Regions from separate parts of the Homo sapiens genome. Here region 2 is linked to region 1. The links are contacts of gene promoters, found by promoter capture Hi-C in blood cells and fetal thymus (Javierre and others, 2016). All regions are on one chromosome and are shown on one strand. The core of a region is centred on a gene start or on the middle of the fragment in contact, and the rest is flanking DNA. Distances in the headings are between cores, read along the strand shown. Region 1 holds the start of SPR (sepiapterin reductase). Region 2 overlaps DYSF (dysferlin).

The links. The method cuts DNA at HindIII sites, captures the fragments that hold promoters and counts their contacts. A CHiCAGO score of 5 or more calls a contact.
Region 2: a contact is called between a fragment that was not itself captured here and the fragment with the promoter of SPR in region 1, in 1 of 17 cell types (M1 macrophages). The highest score is 5.8, in M1 macrophages.

The regions. Positions count from the first base shown.
Region 1 is chr2:72,883,646-72,890,126 of GRCh38, reverse strand. It overlaps SPR (sepiapterin reductase), which reads right to left and starts at 2,719. Exons shown (of 3, transcript NM_003124.5): 1 at 2,391-2,719; 2 at 1,523-1,813. The coding sequence starts at 2,694. RefSeq lists silencers at 1,665-1,839, 2,478-2,867. The HindIII fragment of the contact is 9,789 bases long and covers 1-3,149 here.
Region 2 is chr2:71,521,611-71,526,029 of GRCh38, reverse strand. The region is part of intron 12 of DYSF (dysferlin); the gene reads right to left. Among named protein-coding and RNA genes, the nearest start is that of DYSF, 57 kb to the right of the region's middle. The HindIII fragment of the contact is 938 bases long and covers 915-1,852 here.

The DNA.
Region 1 (6,481 bases), core at 1,470-3,969:
AATGTCCAGTTCAGCTACCTCCAATAAAGCCATCTCTAGTCTCCCCACCTAAAGGAATTGTTCCCTTCTTGAACTGTTGCAAGCACGTTCTATTCTTCACATAGGAATCACTCATGCACCCCAATATTTGCAGTTAATGGTCCTCGAGGGCAGAACATCAGAGAATTCCAGGGTTGGAGGGAGAATTTATCTCCTGGTCCTTGACTATTTTCCAATGACCTGTGCATCCCTGCTGAGAGAGGACTTGCTGCCTTTCCAAACAGCCCATTCCATCTCTGAGCACCTGTTAGAACATTCTTCCTGAGACCGAAATGAAAACCAGACTGGCCTCTGCCTTGGTTCAGGCCCTGGGGACCTCCTGAAAATCTCAGCTCCCTCATAATGCCCAGGGCAGCCTCCTGAGACCAAACGCAGCCATGTGGACTTCTGGAGTCTGCTCTGCTCCTGGTTGTAGCTTACATTTGGTCACTGTTGTTTGTGCGAATCCTTGGGCTGAATTCAGAGTGGATGATGAGTTGAATGTTGGTTGTGAGAATAATTGTGCATGTGTGTTGGGGGGCAGGGGTGGTAGGGGCTGGGGTACTGGAGAACATGAGGAAGAACTTGAAAGCAAGGTGGGATCCAGCCCTGCCACATCTGTGCTTTGTGCAGGCCATTCTACCTGTCTGCCCTGGGAGCCTGACCCTATTCCCCAGGGACACAGGCTACTGGATTTCTGCCCAAGTTGCTCAGGCTTTCCATGGCTGCTCTGTCACCACCTTCTGATTGCAGCAACCTCAAGCCTAAAAGAGACTCCTCACTATTAAGACAGGGGCGCTGTGGCATCAGAAACTAGACCCAGTATCACAAGACTCCCTGTCCTTTGGCGTTCATGAGAGCAAGGGATCTATTCTATTTATCCCAGAATCCTCAATAGTGTTCCAGCACAGTTCAGCCAGGGATGGTCAGCACTCAACAAAGTCTGTCTGCTCTCCATACAGCTAGCATGTCCTGCAGCTTGCCTTAGTGTAGTGCTTTGCTAGGTGTTAGGAACACACATCTGCATAGTGCAAAGGCTTTCCTGTCAAGGGAGGGAAGGAGGCAAGCAAACATATGCAGACAATACAGTGTGGTCAGTCCTATTTAACAATGAGGCAACACTTCACAGGTCAGGGTCATTTTCACATACAGTATCTCATTCAGTCTTCCCAAGTGCCCTGTGAGGCAGGGAGCGTCTTCCCCATTTCACATGAGGAAGGCCTGGAACTCAAACCCCAGTCTTCTCCCAAACTCCATCTAATACCTCAGACCTTCCTGCCCCACCCTCCAGTCCAGGAAACTCCTCACTCTCTACCAGTATCCCCGGCCCCTGCCACCTCTATTTCCCCTGGGTCTGTATTTCCCCTAAGGGGTGATGGGTCAAGATTCAAGGACAAAATCCTGTGGGTTGTTTCCTGGAGGGGGCGGACTAGGCCGCTTGCCCAGCCCCCAGAGGCGCACCAGTGGGTTCTGGAGGACAGGGACGGCAGGACTTCCCACCTACCTGGGGCATAGTTCAGCACCCTCACATTAGGTTCCTCCAGCGCCAGGACCTGGAACAGCATATCACGAGCAGCCTTTCCTGCACAGTACAGCGCCCAGCCTTTGAAAGGTTGCAGGGCACAGAGGGACGAGATGTTAACCACGGTTCTGTTGAGGCCAGGACTGTCCGGGAAGGCCTTCAGGACGCTGGAAGTCAGGCAGAGCATGGAGGTCAAGTTCAGTGCCCAGTAGTTGTTCACTTGAGTGGAGTCACTCAGGTCCACGAAGCCTTTGGACACATCCCCAAGAGAGCCTGAAAAACCAACCCTTAGGAGTAACTCAGTGCAGGCGGGGCTTTCTTCTTCCCCAGCCCTCCCAAGTTCCTCCAGATATCCTCTTCCCATGCAGACCTAGAGGAGGAAGCTGCCTAGCGCTTCTGAAGAGGCTTCTCTCTTCCCCAGCTCTGCGGAAAGACACAGCTGGGGAACCTAGCCATCCCAAGCTGCAGAATGAGAAGGCACCTGCCTTGCCGTGGGGCTGAAGGAAAGCTCTAGCGGTCCTTTGGAGAAGCAGAGAGTTTACTTGTTTGGAGACTCCAAGCCCTGACTCAGGCCTCCGCCAGAGGGCGCAGAGCAAGGGGCTCGGGAAAGTTCTACAGGCGCTTTGGAAAACCCGGCTGGCCAATTTTCCAGGAAGTGGGGGCAGACTGTTGTCCCGACGGCACCGAGTCTTCCTGTACACCTCGCCTCCACTTGCTACTCAAGCTGGAACAACTAGGGCTTTAGATTTCTAGGCGTCCTATCTGACCCCTAGGAGTAGCCCTTAAATTCCCCAGCGGTGGAGGAAGTGGGCGCTCACATGGGGAGTCCGCTCCAGCCCCGGGGTCTTACCCGCGTTGTTGATAAGCAGCAGTCGCTGCAGCCCCTTGGGCCGGGGGAGCTCGCGCAGGGCGCCGAGCAGCTGCTGCAAGCCGGCCTCGGCGCCCAGGTCGGCGGGCACCCGCACCACGCGCAGGCCAGACCGCTCGGCGCCCAGCTCGGCCTCCAGCTGGCGCAGTGCCTCGTCGTTGCGGGCGCTAAGGACAAGCACGGAGCCGGGCGACAGCAGCGAGGCCAGGAGCGGGGCCAGCGTCCGGCCGAAGCCGCGGGAGGCCCCGGTCAGCAAGCACACAGCACGCCCCAGCCCGCCCTCCATGCTCCTGTTCTCCGCCGGCGGCGCTGGCACCCGAGACCAGGCAGGAGGCGGTGCGGCCGCGGGGGGCGGGACCGCTACGGGTGTCGGCGGGGCCGCCCTGCCGGGGCGGGGCGGGAACCTCAGGCTTCGGGCCGCGAGCGCCCAGGGGTGCTGGTTCCCTTGGGATCTGGTTCCCTTGGTTGCTGGTGGCGGAAGTCAAACCGTGGCGGTAGCCCAGTCCGTGCCAAGTGGGACAACAGAGAGGGCCGGCAGGCGCGGCCCACACGGAAAGCCCTAGCCCGGTTCCCAGCGCTGCCGTGTTCTTCGCCCGCAAGCTCAGCCTCCGGCTGGGACGCATGCTCGAATTTCCTCCCAGTTCCAGCCCTAACTTTGCACTACTGACCTCTTCCAGGGCAGGCCCTGCACTGGGTGCTGGGCGTCCCTGGTCGTGGCCAGTGAACACCCTGAATGAAGCTTATGCCTGTTTAGGAATTGAAGTCTCTGCTTGTTTGGGAGCTCACCGCTCTCTGGATGACAGGAGCTTCCTCTGGGAGAACCACAGTGGCTCCAAATGATATTAAAACCTTTCCCTTTTACTAGGCCCTGAGCAGCTCCGTGATCCCACCAGTAACCCCTGCTTCTCTGAGATTTCTGACTCCTGTCCCTAAAAGTGTGTTCCCCAGGATTCTGCTCCTGCTCATGCTACAGTCTCCCTGGCAGCAATTCCATCCACTTTCAGCTTCAAGTTTGCGCAATCATCTGTCTGTACCTCCAGGCAGGTGCTTCAGAAAAATCCACATTTTTTTTTTTCTAGGAGAGGAGGAACGTGAGACAAGTTGGCATGCAGCTACATATATTAAAAAGGAATCTCTTCATGGTTTCCTTCTTAGTGGCCGAGTGGTATTCCATTGTGTATATACATATGTCCAAATATTGTGTGTCAGTTTTTAAAAAACGAATCTCTTTAGAGTTTAGCAAGGGCAGTAAGTAACCTCTGATAACTTAGCCCAATTCCCCACAGGGCTGATCCCTCCCCTGGGGCTAAACAGCAAAGTTACCGCCTTTCCACTATTATTGCCAACTCTAAGGAAGAAACAACTTGGAGGAAGGCTTTTTTCTTTTCTTTTTTCTTTTTTTTGACAGAGTCTCGCTCTGTGGCCCAAACTGAAGTGCAGAGGTGTGATCACAGTTTACTGCAGCCTTGAATTCTTGGGCTCAAGCAATCCTTCCACCTCAGGCTCCTGAGTAGCTAGGATTACAGGTGCGCACCACCACGCCTGGCTAATTGTTTTTTAAGCTTTTGGTATTTTAACGCTGATAAGACTCTGTATATGTGTATACCATTTGAAGTTGCCCTGCTTTTCACTTACCTATTCACACTGAAGATAAAGATCTCATTGGCCCAACAGCTTACTATTTAAAGAATTTTAATAGCTTCTCCCTGCTCTCCAGGCCTTAGAAGACAGGTTGATGAAAGCACGATCCCATCCATCCATTCATTTGACATTTGTTAAATTTCTACCATTTGCCAGATTTTTGAAGAAAAGGAGGGAACAATGAAGGGATGGCAAAAAATCAGACCTAGACTCTTCTGAACCTAGCTGCTTCTAGGAGGAACCACTTGGGAACAGCCCCTAAGGAGAACGTGGTTTTCCTATACTAGGAGAGGGTCTGGAAAATTCTTCTTTTCTGAGGAAGATGATTATCTGCTCTCGCTAATTTTTGTGTTTTTTTATAGAGATGGCTCTTGCTGTGTTGCCCAGTGTGGTCTTGAACTGGACTCAAGCAGTTCTCCCATCTCAGCCTCCCAAAGTGCAGGGATTATAGGTGTGAGCCACCCCACCTGGCCAACAGTAACTCTTTTAAAAAGATACAAATGCCTGAAAGGTAAGAAATGTGTAAAAATTGTGTTAAAAACATAAGCCTGATAAAGGACATGGGTAGGGGAATGGGTGAAATTTGAATAAGGTCTGTAGGTTAGTTATTGGCATTGAATCATTTCCTGACTTTGACCAGTGAACTATTGTTATATCAGAGAGTGTTCTTGTTTTTGGAAGTACACAGAAGTATTTAGTAAAGGGGCATCATATCTGCAACTTACTTTCAAATGTTTCAGAAAAAAATTAGAATGAATAAGGCAAAGGTAAAATGTTAACATTTAGGAAATCTGCATTAAAAGTATTCAGGAATTCTTTATACTATTCTTGCAACTTTGTAAAAGTCTGAAATTATTTCTAAATAACAAAGTTTTTGAAATGAGTCATACTTTGGGAGGCTGAGGCAGGTGGATCACCTGAGGTCAGGAGTTCAAGACCAGCCTGGCCAACATGGTGAAAGCCTGTCTCTACTAAAAATATGAAAATTAGCTGAGCGTGGTGGCGTATACCTGTAGTCCCAGCTACTCAGGAGGCTCAGGCAGGAGAATTGCTTGAACCCAGGAGGCAGAAGTTGCAGTGAGCCAATATCTCACAACTGCACTCCAGCCTGCGTGACAGAGCAAGACTCCACCTCAAAAAAAAAAAAAAAAAAAAGCCATACTTATAAGTCAAAAGTAAAATGAAAAAGTGAGCAAAGTATATGAACAGACATTTATCCAAAGAAATTACACAAATGGTCAATAAGCACATAGAAAGATATTCAACATAATTTGCCATCAGGGAAATACAAATCAAAATTACGATAAGATACCACTTCATATCCATTAAGATGGCTAAAATAAAACAGACAGATAATAAATATTGGCAGGTTATATGATTTGGCTGTGTCCCCATCCAAATCTCATCTTGAATTATATTTCCCATGTGTTACAATTCCCATGTGTCATGGGAGAGACCCAGTGGAAGGTTAATTGAATCATGGGGGCGGGTCTTTCCCATACTCTTCTCATGATAGTGAATAAGTCTCATGAGATCTGATGGTTTTATAAGTGAGAGTTCCCCTACACAAGCTCTCTCTTGCCTGCTGCCATGTAAGATGCGCCTTTCACCCTTCACCTACCACTATGATTGTAAGGCCTCCCCAGACATTAATGGAACTGTGTTAATTAATGGAATGGAATTAACTGTGTTAATTAATGGAATCCACAGATTAATGGAACTGTGATTCCATTAATCCTCTTTTTCTTTATAAATTACCCAGCCCCAGGTATGTCTTTATCAGCAGTGGGCAAATGGACTAATACAGTAAATTGGTACTGAGAGTGGGGTACTGCTGTAATGATACCTTAAAATGTGGAAGTGACTTTGGAACCGGGTAACAGGCAGAGGTTGGAACAGTTTGGAGGGCTCAGAATATAAGAAATTGTGGGAAGGTTTGGAACTTCCTAGAGGCTTGTTGAATGGCTTTGACCAAAATGTTGATAGTGATATGGACAATAAGGTCCAGGCTGAGGTGGTCTCAGATGGAGATGAGAAACTTGTTGGGATTCACAGGATTCAAGTAGACATGTCTTTAGAGGTTGGGGAGGGGAGACACACAACTCAATCAACTAGGTGTGTGATAGAGAAGCAGGGCTTCCTCATTAAGAAATTTGCTAGACTATTGAGCCCCCAATCTTGGCTTTTCACCAAATTTGAAAAGCTTATTTTTGAGAGATACACACAAAGGAAGCACCAAACACATTTCAATGGATACATTTATGAAGACACTGTTTCTGTCATCCCAGTCATCACTTTAATGGCATGGAAGTTACTGGAGTGAGTAAAGCTTTTTGAAAAGCTTGGGAACAATAAGACTTCATGTAGCTCATGGGCTTTCTGGGCACATTTGAGTAAAGGGAAAAGGACTGGGAAGGATAAGCACACAGGGA
Region 2 (4,419 bases), core at 134-2,633, 1.4 Mb after region 1:
GCAGAGACCATGATACTGACCTTCCAGGACTGTGCGAGGAACATCTCCAGTAATGATGTAAATGCACGTGGCACACAGCAAGCATTCCACCAACCTCAGTCTCCTTCCCGCTCTCCCCCACCTCCCGGTTAAAACATAGTACAGTAGTAACTGAGGTCTAAGCTGGCCACTCTGTCTTTAATAACATGCAGGTGTTCATTCACCCAGCCATTAGCTACTGAGTGAGTACTAGGTGTCTGTATGGTGCTGAAGGGCAGGGGATATGGCAATGAATAAGGGGATGACATGAATAAGCACCCTGTTCCCATGGAGCTGACTATCATGCAGGGAAAACACTTTCAGCAAACGAATCCAATAACATGTACTGTGTCTTGTGGTTGGAACAGTAATAACAAAAATCACATCCCACATGCATTGATGTGTATGCACTCTCTCATTTAATCCTCATAGCACCCCTCCCTTGAATGGGTCTCAAACTTGGCGGCACATTAGAAACACCTGGGGAAGCCTGGGCGCCGTGGCTCGCACCTGTAATCCTAGCACTCTGGGAGGCCGAGGCAGGCGGATCACCTGAGGTCAGGAGTTCAAGACCAGCTCGCTAACATGGGGAAACCCTGTCTCTACCAAATAATACAAAAATTAGCCAGGCATGGTGGCATGCACCTGTAGTCCCAGCTACTCAGAGGCTGAGATGGGAGAATTGCTTGAACCTGGGAAGCAGAGGTTGCAGTGAGCCAAGATTGCACCACTGCACTCCAGCCTGGGCAACAAAGTGAGACCGCCCCCCGCCCCCACCATCTCAAAAACAAAAAAGGAAAAGAAAAGACTCACCTGGGAAACCCAGGTCACACCCTAGACCAATTAAAACAGAATTTCTGGGAGAGAGTACCCATGCAGCAGTGGCTTGTAAAGCTTCCCAGATGATTCCAACTAGCAACAGAGGCTGAGAATCAATGTCTTCTAGACCACTGCTGTGCATTCCAATTAAAATGCAGGTTCTAGTTCAGCAGGTGTGGGGTGGGGCCCAAGATTCTGCATTTCAAAAAGTGTCCAAGTGATGCCCACGCTGCTTGCCCACAGATGTTGCTCTGGGTGTAAGACCTAGAATGCCCCCACTTTACAGATAAGAAAGCTGAGGTGTAACACAGGCTGGAAGCAGAACCCACGTGCTTGGAGAGCACAGAGCAAGGGGGCTTGTAACTATACTGAGGTGGGGTCAGAAATGCTTCCCAGCTTGAGACCTGGATGATGAGCAACAGGTGGAGGCATCCAGACGAGGAGGCAACTCATGCAGAGGCCCTTGCACATGGGGAAGTCGGCAGCTGGAGGAACAGACAAAAGATCTGGTGGCTGCTCTTGGGCTAGCGAGCAGCGAAGGGACAGGAGAATAGCAAGGTCAGGCTGTGCCCAGCAGCCAACTCCTTGGACAGTTGCCTGGACTAGCCTCACCCCATTTCTCACTCAGTCACACTTGACACGTAGAAACCTGCTTCAGGATCCTTGCTGCAAAACCCTCAATCCCAGAATGCCCATATCACAGCATGCCCAAAGGGATGTGTTCTGCGTTTATTCTCCTCAGCTCATATCAGAAGAAAACAATCATCTTTCAGGCATCCATAAAAATGTCTATTCCCCTAGACAATAAGCACTGACTGAGCACCTACTGTGTACAAGACCTGCCGTACTAGGCAAGAGGGGAGATAAAAGATATCACATTTGCTATATTGTCCCCATCATCAAGAAACTGAATCTCAGTGATGAAGACAGACACATAAACTGATTAGACTACCAAAGGGCTGGGTGGTGGCCCAAAGGAAAGACCAATACATTTTCCTGGAAGACGAGGCAAGCTTCAGGGAGGAAGTAGCATCTGAACTGGGTCTGGAAGAACAAATTGGCTCTTGGTAGGCAAAGAGAGGGAAGGCATTCCAGCAGGGGAAAAGGCTAGAGAGGGATGGAAGAGCATTCTGGAAAGAGTCACATCATCTGGTGTGGCCACAGACGGGGCCCATGAAGATACATAACAGCAAGTGGGATTGGGAAACTAGGCTGAGGGCAAATGTCAAGGGCCTTGAATGTCATGCTAAGGATCTTGGACTCTATCCTAAAAGCAGTGGGAAGTCACTGGAGGTTTTGTAAGAGGAGACACGCGTGATTCTACCTGGGTTTAAAAGTGATGACTGGCGGCCAGGCGCAGTGGCTCACGCCTGTAATTTCAGCACTTTGGGAGGCCGAGGCGAGTGGATCACAAGGTCAGGAGTTTGAGACCAGCCTGACCAACATGGTGAAACCCCGTCTCTACTAAAAATACAAAAATTAGCTGGATATGGTGGCGCACGCTTGTAATCCCAGCTACTCAGGAGGCTGAGGCAGGAGAATCACTTGAACTCGGGAGGCGGAGGTTGCAGTGAGCCGAGATTGCACCATGGCACTCCAGCCTGGGTGACAGAGCAAGATTCTTTCTCAAAAAAAAAAAAAAAAAAAAAGATGACTGGTGATAAGGTGGGGATAGGTGAAGTATAACGTAAGAAGTTAGGAGACCTCAGAGGACACTTAGGATGGATGGCAGAGACTGCTAGTTGTTCCCCCAAATCCAGTCTTTTCTGCCTCCCCTAACAAACCCTCAATTTTTAGCTGGACAGCATTAGGATGGACTTTATTTCCCAGGCTCCCTCGTAGTTAGATGTGGCCATGTGACTAAGTTCTTGTCAATGGGACCTAAGCATAAATGTGTACAACTTCTGGATCATGCCTTTGAAGGAAGAGATGTGGCCTCCATTGTCCTTTACTCCCATTTCCCTGGCTGGAATACAGACATGGTGATGGGAACTGGAGCAACCATCTTGGGCCATGTGACGGAGGCTGCATGATGATCACAGTGGAGAAAAGACCAGGAGCCTGGGTCTCTGATCATTGCCGAAGCACTGTGCCAATTCTGGACTGTGGCATTCATGAGAGAGAAATAAACCTCTGTCCTCCTTAATGCCTATTATTTGGGGCATCTTTGTTACACCAGCTGAACCTATATTGTAATTCACAAAGAGACCCAAGTGAGAGAGAGTGGGAGCTGGACCTCAAACTCCTGTCTTGGGATGGGAAAAAGAAGAGGCGTACACTGAGGTTTTCCACCAACAAGACTGGCCAACTGCTTGCATGGGGATTGAGGGGTAAAGAATGAAACTCTGGCCTCTGGTTTGGGGGACTAAGTGGATAATCATGCAATTTCCTAAGATGTCACCTAATACGGGATGGGGAACAGGTGTGGGGAGTGGGCAGCAAATGATACAGGCTTTGCTATAATAAGTTAGATTTACTATAATAAGTTAGAGGGGCCTAAGGGACATGTTAATGTGGCCTGATGACAAGGCAACTGAAACTGAGCGTCCAGAGCTCAGAAGATCCAGGCTGGAGAAGAGCAATTTACAAGTCTCAGGTGGTGTCTGAAAGAGACGGACTCCTCAACAGTGACGGGCAGGACACAGCAAGGGAACAGGGACTGAACTGCAACATCGAATTTGAAGAACCCACTGGAAAAGGAGCAAGGAGAGTCATGAATACTAAGGGAGGAGACAGTTTCAAATAAGGCGTGGGCTCCAGAATCGAACGCTATGGAGCAGTGGTGCAGTCTAACAACAGAGGAGAGCTCCTAAGCTATGGTAATGAGTGACCCTTACACCAGTGGCTTCAGGGAGGGGAGGTGGTGGGATTCCTACTGAAGAGGAGAAGGAATGAGCAGCTGGCAATGGAGTGGAAAAAGGGGGATGCAGTGCACCCTTTCAAAAGTTGGTGATGACCAGCAGTAGGAGAGAGAGAAAATAGTAGTGGAGAGGAGGGGTGGGGAGAAATGGGTCAAGGAAGGGGTGTTTTAGGATGGGGAAATCTTGAGCCTGGTACAGATCATGGAGAAGGAGGCAGAGGAGACAAGTGTGAGAAGAGACCAGAAAGAGGAGGCTAAAGAAGACAGTGGAGGATGTGAAGTCATGGCCAAGGAGGTGGTGGGATAATGCAGCGGGAGGGGCGGAGGAAGGGAGGGAAGGTGGATGAAGATGGGGGGCAAGTTGAGGACCACAGGAGCTCCCAGAGCTCTCACCACTCATCGCTGTGCAGCTCTGCCTCTCCAAGGGAAGCTGAGGTTGGAGCTTAGGAAAGGGAAGAAAGTCTGGGAACAGCCAGGAGAGATAAGGAGTAAGGAGATGAGGAGAATTAGATAAGGAGTAAACTATACCCAGGTAAAGGAAGAGGCGGACAGCACCCGGGGCCCAGCTAAGTGGAGAAGTAGAAACCCACATTCATCCAAGCAGCACGTCCAGGTGGCCAAGGAGCCAGTGTGTGGTGAGGATGGGGGAGACACGAGGCATGGCAGGAGACCCCAGGGGCCCTGTCCTCCTCTCCCTCCCTGCACAAAGCCATCAGCCATAT